Regions from separate parts of the Homo sapiens genome. Here regions 1, 2, 4 and 5 are each linked to region 3. Evidence: promoter capture Hi-C in 16 types of primary human blood cells and fetal thymus (Javierre and others, 2016). All regions are on one chromosome and are shown on one strand. Each heading gives the region's core, a stretch centred on a gene start or on the middle of the fragment in contact. The rest is flanking DNA. Distances are from core to core; before and after follow the strand shown.

What was found. Contacts are between HindIII fragments. The CHiCAGO score rates a contact against its expected background, and 5 or more counts as called.
Region 1: a fragment that was not itself captured here is called in contact with the fragment with the promoter of FHOD3 in region 3 in 1 of 17 cell types (megakaryocytes); the score reaches 5.6 in megakaryocytes.
Region 2: a contact is called between a fragment that was not itself captured here and the fragment with the promoter of FHOD3 in region 3, in 1 of 17 cell types (megakaryocytes). The highest score is 6.1, in megakaryocytes.
Region 4: a fragment that was not itself captured here is called in contact with the fragment with the promoter of FHOD3 in region 3 in 4 of 17 cell types (total CD8 T cells, activated CD4 T cells, monocytes and 1 more); the score reaches 7.0 in total CD8 T cells.
Region 5: a fragment that was not itself captured here is called in contact with the fragment with the promoter of FHOD3 in region 3 in 5 of 17 cell types (naive CD8 T cells, total CD8 T cells, endothelial precursors and 2 more); the score reaches 5.9 in naive CD8 T cells.

Annotation. Positions count from the first base shown.
Region 1 is chr18:36,558,802-36,561,501 of GRCh38, forward strand. The region is part of intron 5 of FHOD3 (formin homology 2 domain containing 3); the gene reads left to right. Among named protein-coding and RNA genes, the nearest start is that of FHOD3, 260 kb to the left of the region's middle. The HindIII fragment of the contact is 407 bases long and covers 1,057-1,463 here.
Region 2 is chr18:36,577,802-36,580,501 of GRCh38, forward strand. All of the region lies in intron 6 of FHOD3 (formin homology 2 domain containing 3), which reads left to right. Among named protein-coding and RNA genes, the nearest start is that of TPGS2, 250 kb to the right of the region's middle. The HindIII fragment of the contact is 4,705 bases long and covers 1-2,700 here.
Region 3 is chr18:36,296,342-36,299,041 of GRCh38, forward strand. FHOD3 (formin homology 2 domain containing 3) reads left to right here and starts at 1,372. Exons shown (of 29, transcript NM_001281740.3): 1 at 1,372-1,659. The coding sequence starts at 1,495. RefSeq lists an enhancer at 218-1,195 and silencers at 1,135-1,424, 1,545-1,614. The HindIII fragment of the contact is 3,286 bases long and covers 1-2,623 here.
Region 4 is chr18:35,997,801-36,000,500 of GRCh38, forward strand. The region is part of intron 6 of RPRD1A (regulation of nuclear pre-mRNA domain containing 1A); the gene reads right to left. Among named protein-coding and RNA genes, the nearest start is that of RMP24, 26 kb to the left of the region's middle. The HindIII fragment of the contact is 1,347 bases long and covers 772-2,118 here.
Region 5 is chr18:36,030,885-36,033,584 of GRCh38, forward strand. RPRD1A (regulation of nuclear pre-mRNA domain containing 1A) reads right to left here. Exons shown (of 7, transcript NM_018170.5): 3 at 107-213; 4 at 1-21. Among named protein-coding and RNA genes, the nearest start is that of RPRD1A, 35 kb to the right of the region's middle. The HindIII fragment of the contact is 3,070 bases long and covers 1-2,700 here.

The DNA.
Region 1 (2,700 bases), core at 10-2,509, 260 kb after region 3:
GGTGTGTCATCATTGGAACTTTATAAAAGTATACACATTCTTATGAACTAAAAACTCAAAGAGAACGGGCTGCCTTCATGTCAGTGGTGTCACTGCTGAGTTGCAGTGCTTCCCGCCTGCACTCATACCCACATTCAGACCCCTGTGCTCTGCTCAGTGCTCAGCCCTCAGCCCTGCCTCCTCTGACAAGCTATTCTATTGTCACCAGTGTTTTCACAGGACAGGAAGAATCACCTGGCTACAACCAACTCGGTCATCTTCACCTATTGTAGTATCTTCTCTCTCCTGACGTTCTCCTTAGACCACTGTCAACCATCACTTACTCCTGGTCTTTGACAGTATCCTTGAGTTGGATTCTTTGGGGGCTTATTCAGGTTTTCAGGGCGGGATGATGTTGAAAAGCCCAAAAGATTTCAAAACTGTCCAGCGTTTGATCACCTTGCTATTGAAAGACGACCCACAACTGACTACTCAGTAGTGTTGTTTGTCCTCCCAGAGTCCTCTCTGCGGCTGCTTCTCTTGGCTCAGCAGAAAGAAGAATGAGTTAAAGATGAACTGAGCAGCGGGACCGGTGACATCAGTCCTCCTCCACTCAGAAGGAAGCTGTTAAAATAGGACGAGCTGACTTTGCCCTTTCCTCCTTTCTGAATAATAGGCTTCATTTGCATGTGATTATTGTTTACTAATTACCTACCATTCACCTACAGCCCCCACCAATACTACTTCTTCCATACCCCTCTGCACTACATTTTAGCATCTTGCTTGGGCAGGACACACAAGCCATTTAAACAGCTGCACAGTGATTGTTTTTCCCTCCTTGTGTAAGGTTTGTGCCTCCCTGAGGATATGTCTATTTTGGTTTTCATCATTATCATATCCTGACCTGAGAGAGAGTGATGAAATCAGCTTAGATAGAGCCCGTGGCCTTAAGTGATTGCTGTTAAAATAACTTCCCTGTGCAAGTTGTATAAAAATACAGGGCCATGAGAACACATTGCTAGGGCCCCTCCCAAGGTCTGGGAAGGGGCCTGTTTGAATGAGGGACTCTGAAACATAAGCTTTGTTAGCCCCCCGGTCCCACAGCATGAATTATGTTAACTGCCACTCTTGACCCTTACCTTTCTCTGTGGCAGGTATCCATTGGGAAAGACAGTTGCAGCAAGCTGAGAGAGGCATACTTTTGGAAAGTGAATTCTTTCTAGGATCCCTGAAATCAAACTCCACATGCAGCAGACTTTTTTACATGCTTGCTTGTCCAAATTTTCAGGAACCGTCCTTGGGCACCCAGAGTGAGTGAATGAGTGTGTACCCCTTGTTGGGTAGATGAATTAGCATAAAAAACAGGGTTACACCTTGCCTAAGTTCGTCCTTTGACTTAGAAAGCTGTTCACTGCTGCTCCTTTCTGTCTGAGGGTAGTTAGTCTGGGCCTTGCATCTAACCTGCTGGAGCCCATTCTCAAGCAAGCTTATACTAAAGCCAGAGCTTCCCCAAAACATAGTTGCGAGACCTTGGAATGAGGACTGTTGAGGATGTTGATAAACAGTTTCCACTGGTGAAATTTAAGTACCAGAGGTCAAATCACTTGTACAACATTGCTTGTTTGGCAAGAGGCAGTAGGGATGGCCTCAAACACAAGTTTCTTTGGCTTTAGAGCCTGCACTTGCCACTACTTGCCTGGCCTACCTCCCATGTCTTCCCTTCAAAGCTCTTGTGGAGTAACGGGTCTGATCATTCTCCATTCCTGACCATTGCAGTGCTCTGTCCATTTGGCCAAGGGGATTCCTGCCAGATGGGCCTAGCAGAGTGCCTGGTGCTTAACAAATGCTGCAACTGTTTGCATGAGTGGGTGTGTATGTCAGTCTTTAGAAAAGCTAAGAGAGTTTGGGCCAAAAGGAGGGTAACACCTCTCATAGATCGCCACAGTTTGGGTTGAAAGACTGGAGAGAGGCTGCAGCACAGCCTTGCAGTAGTTTTTCATTAAAACTTTCTTCTATAGCTTTGTGTGTGTGTGTAAAGAGCAGCTGTTTTTTTTTTTTTCTGTTTTTTTTTTTTGTTTCTTTGTTTAAGGAAATATTTAATTATAGTGTATAAAGCAGTGTTTGTCAACCTTCTGTTCAGAATCATCCCCCTAAGGTGCCTTTTCATATATTTTTTTCTGAATCACCCCCATACCCCAACCCTCATGAAATTTAAATTCCGCAGACATTCTGTTTATGTATTCTTCCCCTGTGGAGGGCTGTACACATTTGTGATATCTAAGATGTTTTTGTTCCCAAGAATCAAATTTCATGTTTCTAGCTCCTATTAAGAATTTATGGTCTGAAGTATTTATTCCATTTCAGTAGCTGATAACATGAGAAATGCTTATATAATTACAGAAATGAAAGCAAAATACTAGTCATTGATTGACAGCCAGTAATTACTATAAGGATGGCAAAACAATTCTGTTCTAATGAACACGTAATTACAGCTGCTGGGGAATAGCTATTAAATAAATGGAATCTAATGTGTTGGCCCAGGAGACAGGATGGGTGGCGGTGAGGTCTGGGGACACTCAGCCTTGTCACATGGGTCAGCTCCATAGGGCTGGGCTAGTCTCATACCTGTTTGTGCACAAGGAACCACCTCCCAGGACTGTTAGAGCACACGTCCAAGTCAGGAGGCCTTAGTTGCGTTTATGATTTTCTGCTGTGGCTATT
Region 2 (2,700 bases), core at 59-2,558, 280 kb after region 3:
AAGCAGATCTATTCCGTCACTTCAGGTGCGCCGAAAGCTGGGCAAGCCTCTGGCATAGTCTTCTCTGGTTTCTGCCGGGGTGTGGAGGAGCATGTGTTAGGGACCTGACTGCAGGGGGATTTGGGAGAAGTAGTGAAAGGGACCCTGTCCTGAGCAGGTGCACATGCACCAAGGTTAAAGTGCTGTACGGGTGGCACGTTATGGAGATCAGAGTGGCTGTAGTGGGCAACATGGTCAGATGGAGTGGGGGATCTTGAGGGCCTGGATACAGAATTTGAACCTGAATTAAACAGGTCACAGAATCAGCATAGCTTTGTAGGGTCCCTGAAAAGCATATTGGATTAATCTGTTCTCACACCGCTAATAAAGACATACCTGAGACTGGGTAATTTATAAAGGAAAGAGGTTTAATGGACTCACAGTTCCACATGGCTGGGGAGGCCTCAAAATCATGGCGGAAGGCGGAGGAGGAGCAAAGGCACATCTTACATGGTGGCAGGCAAGAGAGTGTGTGCAGGGGAGCCACCCTTTATAAAACCATCAGATCTCAGAAGACTTATTCACTATCATGAGAAAAGCATGGGAAAAACCCACCCTCATGATTCACTTACCTCCCACTGGGTCCCTCCCATGACATGTGGGAATTATTACAATTCAAGGTGAGATTTGGGTGGGGACAGAGAACCAAACCATATCACATGTGGTCTGCCCAGACTGTCCCCCATCCCTGTGTTCACTGCCCACCCCCACTAGAGTGAGCCTTTCCAGGCTGCTGTTCACAGTGCTGTGCTCTGCTGGGGAGTCCATCCCCTGGCCCTACCCCTGGAGTCACCTGCCTCCCAAGGATTCTGCTGTCCTTTGGGAGCACTCAGCCCTGGTTTGATTTGGGGAGGAGTATGGTTCTAGTTTTAGGCTGTATCTCCTTCTCAGGCTTCTCAGAATCCTGGTGATTGTGTCCTTGTGTGGTTGGAAGGGCTTTTTCTCTGTGGCTGGCACTGGCATGCGAATCCCCATGGGGTCCCATATCCGTGGGTGACCCTCACATCTTGCCCTCAGGTTTTCTTTTTCTAGTACTTATTGATGAGAGAATTTTTCCCCATTTCAGATTAGAAACAGCTATGCTTTCCCTCAGAAGATTGAAAATCTTTAAAAAAAAATGTTTGGCTTTGTTTTCTATGGAAAATGGAAGTGACTCTGTTTTGAAACTGATGTAGGTGACCTTGGACACTGAGTGAAATGCTGGGCTTTCTAGGTTGCATCAGCCAGACCGAGGGAAGATTTATATCTCATATCCTGTTTCAGTTTTTTCTCCTTTTTCCTTGCTTGTGCTGGGAAGCCTCCCTAACTTTCATGTTCATTTGGAACCTGCTCCCTCCCCAAGGCACTCTGAATGGTCTCAAGGACATAAAAGCTAGGGAGATGGGAAGAGATTTTGCAAGAAAGATTGACTTTTTGTACATGACACAGCTGAATTAAGATATCTTTATGGTTTTATGATGGCCATGATAAAACACCAACAACTTGCCCTATTTCTAAAAGGAAATAAAACCTAACATGCTTACAATAGAAAAACTGACAGTCTGTTAGCTCATCACCAGACAGAGAATAGAGTGAGGGCAAGGTTAGGGAAGGTGGGATGGGTATGGGGAAGAATCACTGTGAGCAGGGAGAGATTACATAGAGAATGCTGTGGTCTGAATGTGCCTCCCTAAATTTTTGTGGTGTAAACGTGATCCCCAATGCAACAGTGTCAAGAGGTGTTTAGGTCATGAAAGCTCTGCTGTCATGAATGGATTAATGCCATTATAAGAAGGATTTGTGGAAGGAGTGCATTTGCTCTCTTTTGATTCTCTGCCATGTGAGGGCACAACCTTCCTGCCCTCCAGAAGATACAGCAACAGGCACCATCTTGGATGCAGAGAGACTGGGCCCTCACAGTCAGTGCCTTGATCTGGGACTTCCCAGCCTCCAGAACTGTGAGAAATAAATTTCTGTTCTTCATAAATTACCCAGTCTCAGGTATTTCTCTTTATAGCAGCAAAAATAGACTAAGAGAGGAAAGGCACAAAGAAAAGAAGAGGGAGAGATAGAAAAGAGGGAGGAGAAGGACCACGGAGGAGGAAAAGAAGAAGAGCAGCAGAGAAAAAAAAAAACAGAAATAACAGAAATGCATGCCATGGCTCAGAGTCTCTGATGTGGCAACAGCATCATATTGATATTACTTTGGAATCATTCTGTAAGGAAAATAAACAATCAGGAAAGAATAAACACACAGGAAAATCTTTATTGCATTTCTAAATAACATGGAAAAATTATAAAATTAAAAAGTTTCAAAAATACATTTGTAGGAATTGTGCTTTCCCAGCCTCCCCATCCTACACGGTGCACTCGGTGTGTGCTTCCTCAGTGGTGGTTCAGGACTCTGGGCTGCCTCTTCAGGGCCTCTGTCTAAGGTGGCACACTCGCCTCCTCCCTAGCCATTTGGGCCGTCAGCACTGGATCTGTGTGGATTTCTGTCTTCATCTTTTATTTTCCCAAAGGCAGGTCTAGAATAGTCTCTGGCTCCTGTGTTCTGCACTGTGCTGGTCATAATGAGGACAAGAGAGTGGAGCCAAGAGTCAGCCTGTGCCTTGGAGTTCACTGTGTTGTTGGAAAGGAGAATTCTGGGGAACAGTGATGCCACAGCCCATCCCACTAACT
Region 3 (2,700 bases), core at 122-2,621:
CGTGGAAAAATCGTCTTCCACAAAACCGGTCCCTGGTGCCAAAAAGATTGGGGACGGCTAATCTAGAGGATTCATTCAAAGAGTTAAATAACAAAGAAAGTAGAGCTAGAAGTTCGTCTGGAAGGAGCGGAAGTGTCGTGGAATTATTATTTTAAGATCAGGCATAAGTGTGTATGTGTGGCAGGGAGGGAGATCACGGAGAGGGAGAGGTTAAAGATGTGGGTGAGGCTGCTAAATAGGGATAAGGGTTTCTTTTCCCTTGAAACCAGAGGAAAGGGAGATAGACGCGTTATAGAGTCGCCTTGAAAACACTCGGATGTTAAGAGAGACTGGGTGTTATGAGGGCGATCTATATAAGGGGGGAGGAACCAGGAACTTGGCTGTGGCCTGGGAATAGGGAGAACCGTGAATTTTTCTTGAAAACGAAGGGGGTCGCCCGTGAGCAGCGAGGAGAGCGGTGGGAGGCAGCGCCGAGTCTTGCCGCTCCCGCCTGGCAGGGGCGGGCAGGACGCAAACCTTCCTTCCCAGTCCCTCGGTTACCAGGGCATCCCCGGCTCTCTGCAATTCGGGAACCTTGCCAGAAGGGCTCCCACCTCCCCAAGCCCCCGCGGCCCCACAAGGTCCAATTAGGGCTTTCGGCGGCCTAACTGGGGAGAGGCCGTGGTGATGCAGAGGTTTAACCAGCATCCGCCGGGAGCCCCGGGGTCCAGGCCCGGCGCTGGAGTCCCGCAGCGAAGCCTCGCAGCCCCCACGCCTCTCGACTCTAGGCTTGTGCCCTAAAAGCGGCCTGGGTTCCCTGGCGCACCCTCCTCTTTCTTAGCTTCTTTGTCCCTAAGGGAAACCTCCCCGTACCCTTAGGTGGGGCTCCCGGTCACTGCCACCACCCCTCTTGCTGCCGAAGCCGGCTCCCTGGCCACCTGGTGCCCTGCCGGGGTATTCCAAATCTGGGCAGCAGAAGCCGGCCGCCGCCGCCTTCATCTGGAAAGGCTTAAGCCTTCTCCGGGTGGGGAAGAAGTCAGAAGGCCGCCTGTCTCCCCGTCCCCCAACCCCCCAACTCCCCAACTCGGTCCTCCAGGCTCCGAGGGGTGCAGCTCGGCCCTGGGCCGCGGGGCGCACGTGCAGCAGAGTCCGGCCGCCCGGCCTCCCCGCCCCGCCTCCGCCGCCGGCCTTTGGCGCAGGGCTGCGGATGCCGCGCGAGCCGTCTCCTTTGCACTTTCCCGGCTGCGGTCCGGTCGTTCGGGGCAGCCCGGCCGGGGGTAGAGGACCCGGAGGAGGGGAGGAGCCGGAGGGAGAGGGGAAGGAGGGGGCCCGCCGGCCCCGCCCCCGCCCCGCCCCCCGCGGCCGGAGCCCGGGCTGCAGCCCGGCGCGCCTGAGCCTGCGAGTCCGCGAGCCAGCGAGCTGCGGCTGCGGCCTCCCCTGCGCGCAGCTACCCGGGCGTCCCGGCCCGCGGCCCCGCTAACCCCGGGGCCCGCGCCCCCGCGGCAGGGATGCATCATGGCCACGCTGGCTTGCCGGGTGCAGTTCTTGGACGACACGGACCCTTTCAACAGCACCAACTTCCCCGAGCCCAGCCGGCCGCCGCTGTTCACGTTCCGCGAGGACCTCGCGCTCGGCACCCAGCTGGCGGGGGTCCATAGGCTGCTGCAGGCGCCGCACAAGGTACGACCCGGCGGGGTGGGCTGGGCCCCCTGGACTCAGCCCCCTGCCGCGGTGCGCGCCGGGGTGGGTCCCGGGGCTTCGTGGGCCCCCTGGGCTGGGCTGGGCGCGGCCCGGGGGGACCATCGCTCGAGGGCAAATCCCCCTCCCCGTTAGACAGAAGGGCTCGAGGCACCCGCTGGTTGGCGCAGGACCCTCCGGGGCGGGCGGGAAGGAACAGCTAGAGCCGGGGGCGGGCGTGGCAGAGCAGGTGCCGAGCCGGTCCGAGGCGGGATGGAGAAGGCTCCCCCGAGCCGCGCCGTTAGCTCGGCCGGGTGGGCGGGGTGGGGCTAGGACGCGGGCAGTCGGCCTCGGCACTCGGGCGGGCACCAAGCGGGGCGCGGGAAGAAGCGGAGCGCCGCGAGACTCAGGTCCCTTGGAGAGGAGAGCTCTGAGCGACGGCCGGGACAAAACCTCCCTCAGGCCTCTGGGGCCGCTGCGGGCGGCCACGCGACCCTCGCGACAAAGCACGCTTCCCGGCGACACCGCCTCCTCCTTCCCCCGGGGGCGCCGCCGGGGACGCCGGCCGCACACTGCGATAGCGCTCAGGGTATCCCCCTTTTCTTCTGAGAAGCAGGTGGCCTTGGGAACCTCGGAGGAGCAGTCGCTGTGGGAGGAGGGGCGGGGGCGCGGAGGGGCGGCGCGCTCACAAAGCCTCAGCTTGGCAGCCCGAAATGAGTGTCCCCTGGGAAGAATGGCTGCTCAGTCTACCCGTTAGAGAGGTTTTTTTTTTTTTATTTGTTATTTTTATTTAAATAAAACCTTTTGCAGGAGGATAGGCCTCTTGCAAAGCATTTGTTGCAAAGAGGTGGGTATTGAAAGCTAATCATTTCGTTACCTAGGAAAACCCTTACTCTCACTTAGACAGATTGAATGCAGCTTGCAAAATTACCTTCCCAGTATTTTTTCTGCCTAGGATTCATATCAAAGCTTGGAGATGATTTATTTCTTGAGGGTCGACATTAACACATATTTGGAAGAGATAAGCGTTGATGCCCAAAAGAA
Region 4 (2,700 bases), core at 195-2,694, 300 kb before region 3:
ACCAACACCTAGATCAAGATATAGGCTTTTTCAGAACCCCAGAAATTTTCCTCATACCACCTCTCCCAATTTTTAATCACTATTTTCCAAACTTCAATTAGTTAACTACCATCCTTCATAACGTTCTTTACCATGACTCCCTTACACTGTTATTTACATAATATTTAAATCAACTCATTTTTTAACATCTTCATTCTAAGAAATAATATCCATGCAATCACAGGTTGGTTGTGCTCATTTTCGTTTTGATTCACACATCAAAATAAACGTAACTAGGGCTGGGCGCAGTGGCTCACGCCTGTAATCCCAGCACTTCGGGAGGCCAAGGCGGGCGGATCACCTGAGGTCACGAGTTCAAGACCAGCCTGGCCAACATGGTGAAACCCTGTTTCTACTAAAAATACAAAAATTAGCTGGGTGTGGTGGCGGCACCTGTAATCCCAGCTACTTGGGAGGCTGAGGCAGGAGAACAACTTGAACCTGGGACAGAGGTTACAGTGAGCTGAGATTGCACCGTTGCACTCAAGCATGGGCAACAAGAATGAAACTGTCTCAAAAACTAAAAAAAAAAATGTAACTATTAAAATAAATGTTCTCAGGTGGCACCATGGCATGGGTGCATTTGGGAACCAATGCTTTACCTCATTCTTCTTACTCTGTTGACCGAAGCCACTTTACTTCTTCTCCTCCGTTTTCCTCATTCAACAAGGCCCACCTTTCTGTCCTTAATTTACCCTTTACTTGCCACAAGTATCACCACTACCACCCTAAAGCTTGTTATCACCTCAGTCATGAGCAACCCTCATGTCAGTTTCTGCAGTTCCAGCTTCATACCAAGGCTCAATTCCACTGATCATATCCAAGCCCCTCCAGTCTTCCAAAATTTTGCCCATCTGTCATAATCCAGGCAAATTTTCACTTTGCCTAAAACTCTTCCCCTGTTCTTAGCATCCTTACTCTAGGCTCCTAGCTGAAACTATCTCTGCGCTGTTTGGTTGTAATCCATGTTAAGTCTGTCTTGTCTTTCCAAGGGCAGAAGCCTTCTTTACACTGCTATAATACTTCAACACTAGTGAACTAGGAGGTGTGACTTGCCTTGTGTGCACTGCAAGTGGGCTACAGCTTCTTGAAATCTGAACCACCATTACAGATTTCTTTACAGCTAATACTAAGTATATATTGAGGATCCAAATTTTATATATTTTTCAAGTCCTACATTAAGACCAAACACTGCAATAGAATCTTTTCTGACTCTGGCCTCAAGCTAACTTCCTATGATATACTACTATACAAGTTATTTCTGAATTACTACTGGATTGTTTTCTAATTTCATACCCATAATTAGAAAACACACTTTCTATATATCTACATTACTTGCAGTGTCCAGCAGGGGACTGAGTATTAACAGTACGCCCCAGTCAACACTCCATGAAGTCAGATCTGGATGGAGTACTGTTTCCTCAATCTACTTCCTATGTAAACCTGGACAAGGGCTCCTGAAGGTTATCTAATTAAGTCTCAGATGCCTCCTTCATAAAATAAGGGTACTATTTTACAGTGCTGTGTGGCCAAATTATGTGGAAGTTTTCAAATTAGGAAGTGCTATATAATTGTGGTTATCATTCTGAGATGATATCAGAATCACCTTGCAGTAAGAACATCTAAGAGAATAAATTTCCTGAAATTTGGAATTCTTGTTCATTTTAGGGCTGACCCTGTTATGTTCTAAAATTCTAGTTGCTTTAAATACATAATATTTCTGAAATTAAAATATTTACATGGCTGCCTTTTTCTTGCAGATGCTGCTAATAATTCATTTTATCTTTCCTACATAATTGTGACAAAAAAAAAAGAGAGAATTTCAACCACATCCATATGGGGATCTTTAGTGGTCAATTAAAGGCTTTGGTCAATTCTAAGCATCATACTTACTGTATTGCAGACCTATGGCTTCCTACCCATTTCTTGATAAAAACAGCAGAATTTGTAGAGAAAAAAGGTGCAAAGTTTGTTTTCTCTGGTGACCTCATTTATCTGTAGTATAATGTCCTTTGCCTCTTTTAAGAAGTTAACATACAAGTATTTCTTAAGCCACTGCCTTCAATAGAACTATTAAGAAGCTTCAGTTCTCATTATTAGGATCCATCACCATTTACTTTTACTTCATTTTTCATGTCCTGGAATTGGGCCCTTTTCTAGATTAGAGGAAAAAATTAACTGAAGTATTAATCAAGATATAACACACACACACCCATTTTCTTTTTTTAATAAGGCCAAGACATTCCATGATGTCAGGGCGTTTCTGAGACTGCAGATTAGTCAAGTCTGTTACCATCCCCAGGGGACAGACTGCAAAGGAAATAAAGATCTCAGTGGTTTGCCCTCACCTTCTGGGAAACAAATGCTCAAATTTGGCTTGGTATCTAATCCTGGAATTGACAATTTTAAAAATATAAACTCCAATATAGCCAATCCTTTCTCATTTCTTTTCACAGGTTATCCTATACATCTCAGATGGAGCTGTCATTTTTTCCCCCTTGACTGCAGAAGTTTTACCTTTTGGTGGGAATTACTTTAATGTAAGTAAGTATCATCTAACGAACTGTCTCACTTCCTTTAGTTCCTTCTCTTAAGAAATCCACTATTGCAGAGTTTCATTAATCTTCCAGATTGTTAACAACATGTGGAAAAAGATATTTT
Region 5 (2,700 bases), core at 150-2,649, 270 kb before region 3:
TCCTAGGCTTCTTATCACCATCTGAAATGAAAGAACATTTAAGTATTAATGAAAGAATACATTTTAATGAAGAGATCAAGGTAAGAGATCAGGATTCTACACTTACACAGAGCTTGTTTAAGTTGTTCTAATACATCATTTTCATAAACAGACCTTTCTTCCCAAATAGATAACACTCTTCCAAGGTGCTTCTTACAACTTTCATCAGTTTCACTAAAAAAAAAAAAAAAGAAAAAAAGAAAAATGTTAACAGTAACAATGCATAGTGTTATTGAAAAGGTTAACGGTAACTTTAAATATAATCAGACATTCATTCCCTGGAAAAAACTGTCCAAATGTCTACTTAGCATCACTATGTGGCCAGCAGCTCAAAAGTGAAGTGATCTAGACACACTGCTTGCTTCTAGTAAACATTTTATAAACATATTATTACACAACCAAAAAAAGTTTAAACTGTAAAAGTTTTAGTACTGGCTGCTAGGGATTTCCTATCCTAATGGGGCCTGGACATGGGGCTAAGGAAGATTTCTCATAGGTTATTTTTTTAAATTTATTCAACAAATACTTATTGATCCAGTTACTATCTTTGACATGGAGATGCAAATGCAGCTTATGGCAGTTGTTATTTATAAGTATCACAAAAGAGAACAAAGTGCTTAAGACAGACCTGGCCCTGTTTAAGAGATATCCGGAAGAGTATTTAAGGAAATGATATTTAATTTGAGATCTTAAGACTAGACATATGGGGAAATGAAAAACAGACTACTCCCAACTGTTTCCTACCTCCTTCATTGCTATCACTGTAGACAGAAACACTACTATCTCTTGCTTAGAATTTTGTAAAGTCTTCTCACGCTCTCCCAGCCTCTACTCTTTTACTCTATTCTGTACAAAGCATCCTAATAATGTAAATCAGATTATACAGCTCTTGATCCTCCAAGAGCTACCAATCACATCAAGAATAAAACCAAAATCCTTACTCTGGGCCATAAGGCCCACATGCTCTGCTTTCTGGCAGTCCCTCAGTACACACTCCCTAATACCTAGTACCATACAAATCTCCTTGCTAAGGTCCTCAAACATGTCCAGCATATAAGCTATCTCATTTTTTCGGCCACATATTCTCTCTACCTAGAATCCTTTCTGCCTAGTCAAATGGCTCATTTCACCCCTTCCTTTAGTCTTTGTTCAAATGCCACCTTCCCCAAATAGTTGTTCTTTATCTCATCACATAACTGAGCGCCCTCATACTATCTAGTTCCTTCCCTGCTTTGTATTTCTTGCTAGCATTTGTCATCTGACATTATGCATTCACTTGTCTATCTACTTATTAACTTTGTCATCCAATGAAATGTAGGCTCCAGTAGAACAAAACTGTCTTGGTCACTACTACTCAGGGTTTTGCATATAATAAATATTTATGCAGCCAATAAATATTTTACTGAATTCTAGGGAGGGGCAACATATATAGAAGACTTAAGGCGGAAAGAACTAAAAAAGGTTAATTTAGCTTAAACTGTAGACTATAGACTGTGTGGAATAAATGCGAGACAGAGGTCTGGGGAGATAGGCAGTGCCACGAAGGAACACCTTAAGTCTTGCTCAGGACTTTAGACTTCATCTCTAAAACAAATGGGAACCACTCAAAGGCAAGGAAGTATTATGACCAGCTCTGCAACTCTGTCGAGTTTTCTAAAGAAATTAAACAATACTAAAGGGCATTAAAATTATACTGAAAATACATTATGGTAACTAAAAGGGAAAGAAATCCAAAGAACCGAGTCAATGTGTACTATGTGAGATATGGGGACTGAAGGAGAAAGAAGAGTTTAAAGGTAACATAATTTCTTGCATAGGCACCTGGATAGATCGAGTTGCCATTCACAGAGTATAAAACCTACAGGAGGGACAAGTACGGTGGGAAGCAAGGACATAATGAGTTCTGTATCAGACACAGTGAGTCTGAAATGTTTGAGACGCATACAAGTAAAAATGTCAAAAGGCAATTGGGCACACAGGTTTGGAACAAAAAAAAATCTGGACTGGAGCATAAAACTGTAAGTCATTACGGTGTGGAGAATAACCAAATACATGCGATGTACAAAATTACCCAGAGGGCAAGTAAAGAATGGAAACAGGCCAGACATGGTGGCTCACGTTTGTAATCCCAGCACTTTGGGAGGCCGAGGCAGGTGGATCACGAGGTCAGGAGTTCAAGACCAGCCTGGCCAAGATGGTGAAACCTTGTCTCTACTAAAAACACAAAAATTAGCCAGGCATGGTGGCAGGCACCTGTAATTCCAGCTACTTGCGAGGCTGAAGTAGGAGAATCGCTTGAACCCAAGCGGCAGAGGTTGCAGTGAGCCAAGATCGCACCACTGTACTCCAGCCTGGGTGAGAGTGAGACTCTGTCTCAAAAAAAAAAAAAAAAAAAAAAAAAAGAATAGAAACAGTACTAAGTGTATATGGAAATATTTGTTACAAGACTGATAGCTTTATAAACACACAAATTTTTACTTCAATACCTTCATTCATTTTTAATGAAGTTCATTCCAATATAGCAGTTGGTTCTGGTCTCTTAAAGGAAAGCTGTAATTCAAGTACTCCAAAGGCCCACCTTAGCAACAGTTCAAAAAATATTTTTCCTTCAGAGAAGGCATTTAATACATTTATAAATGCCATGTAGAGGGAAGTCTTTTC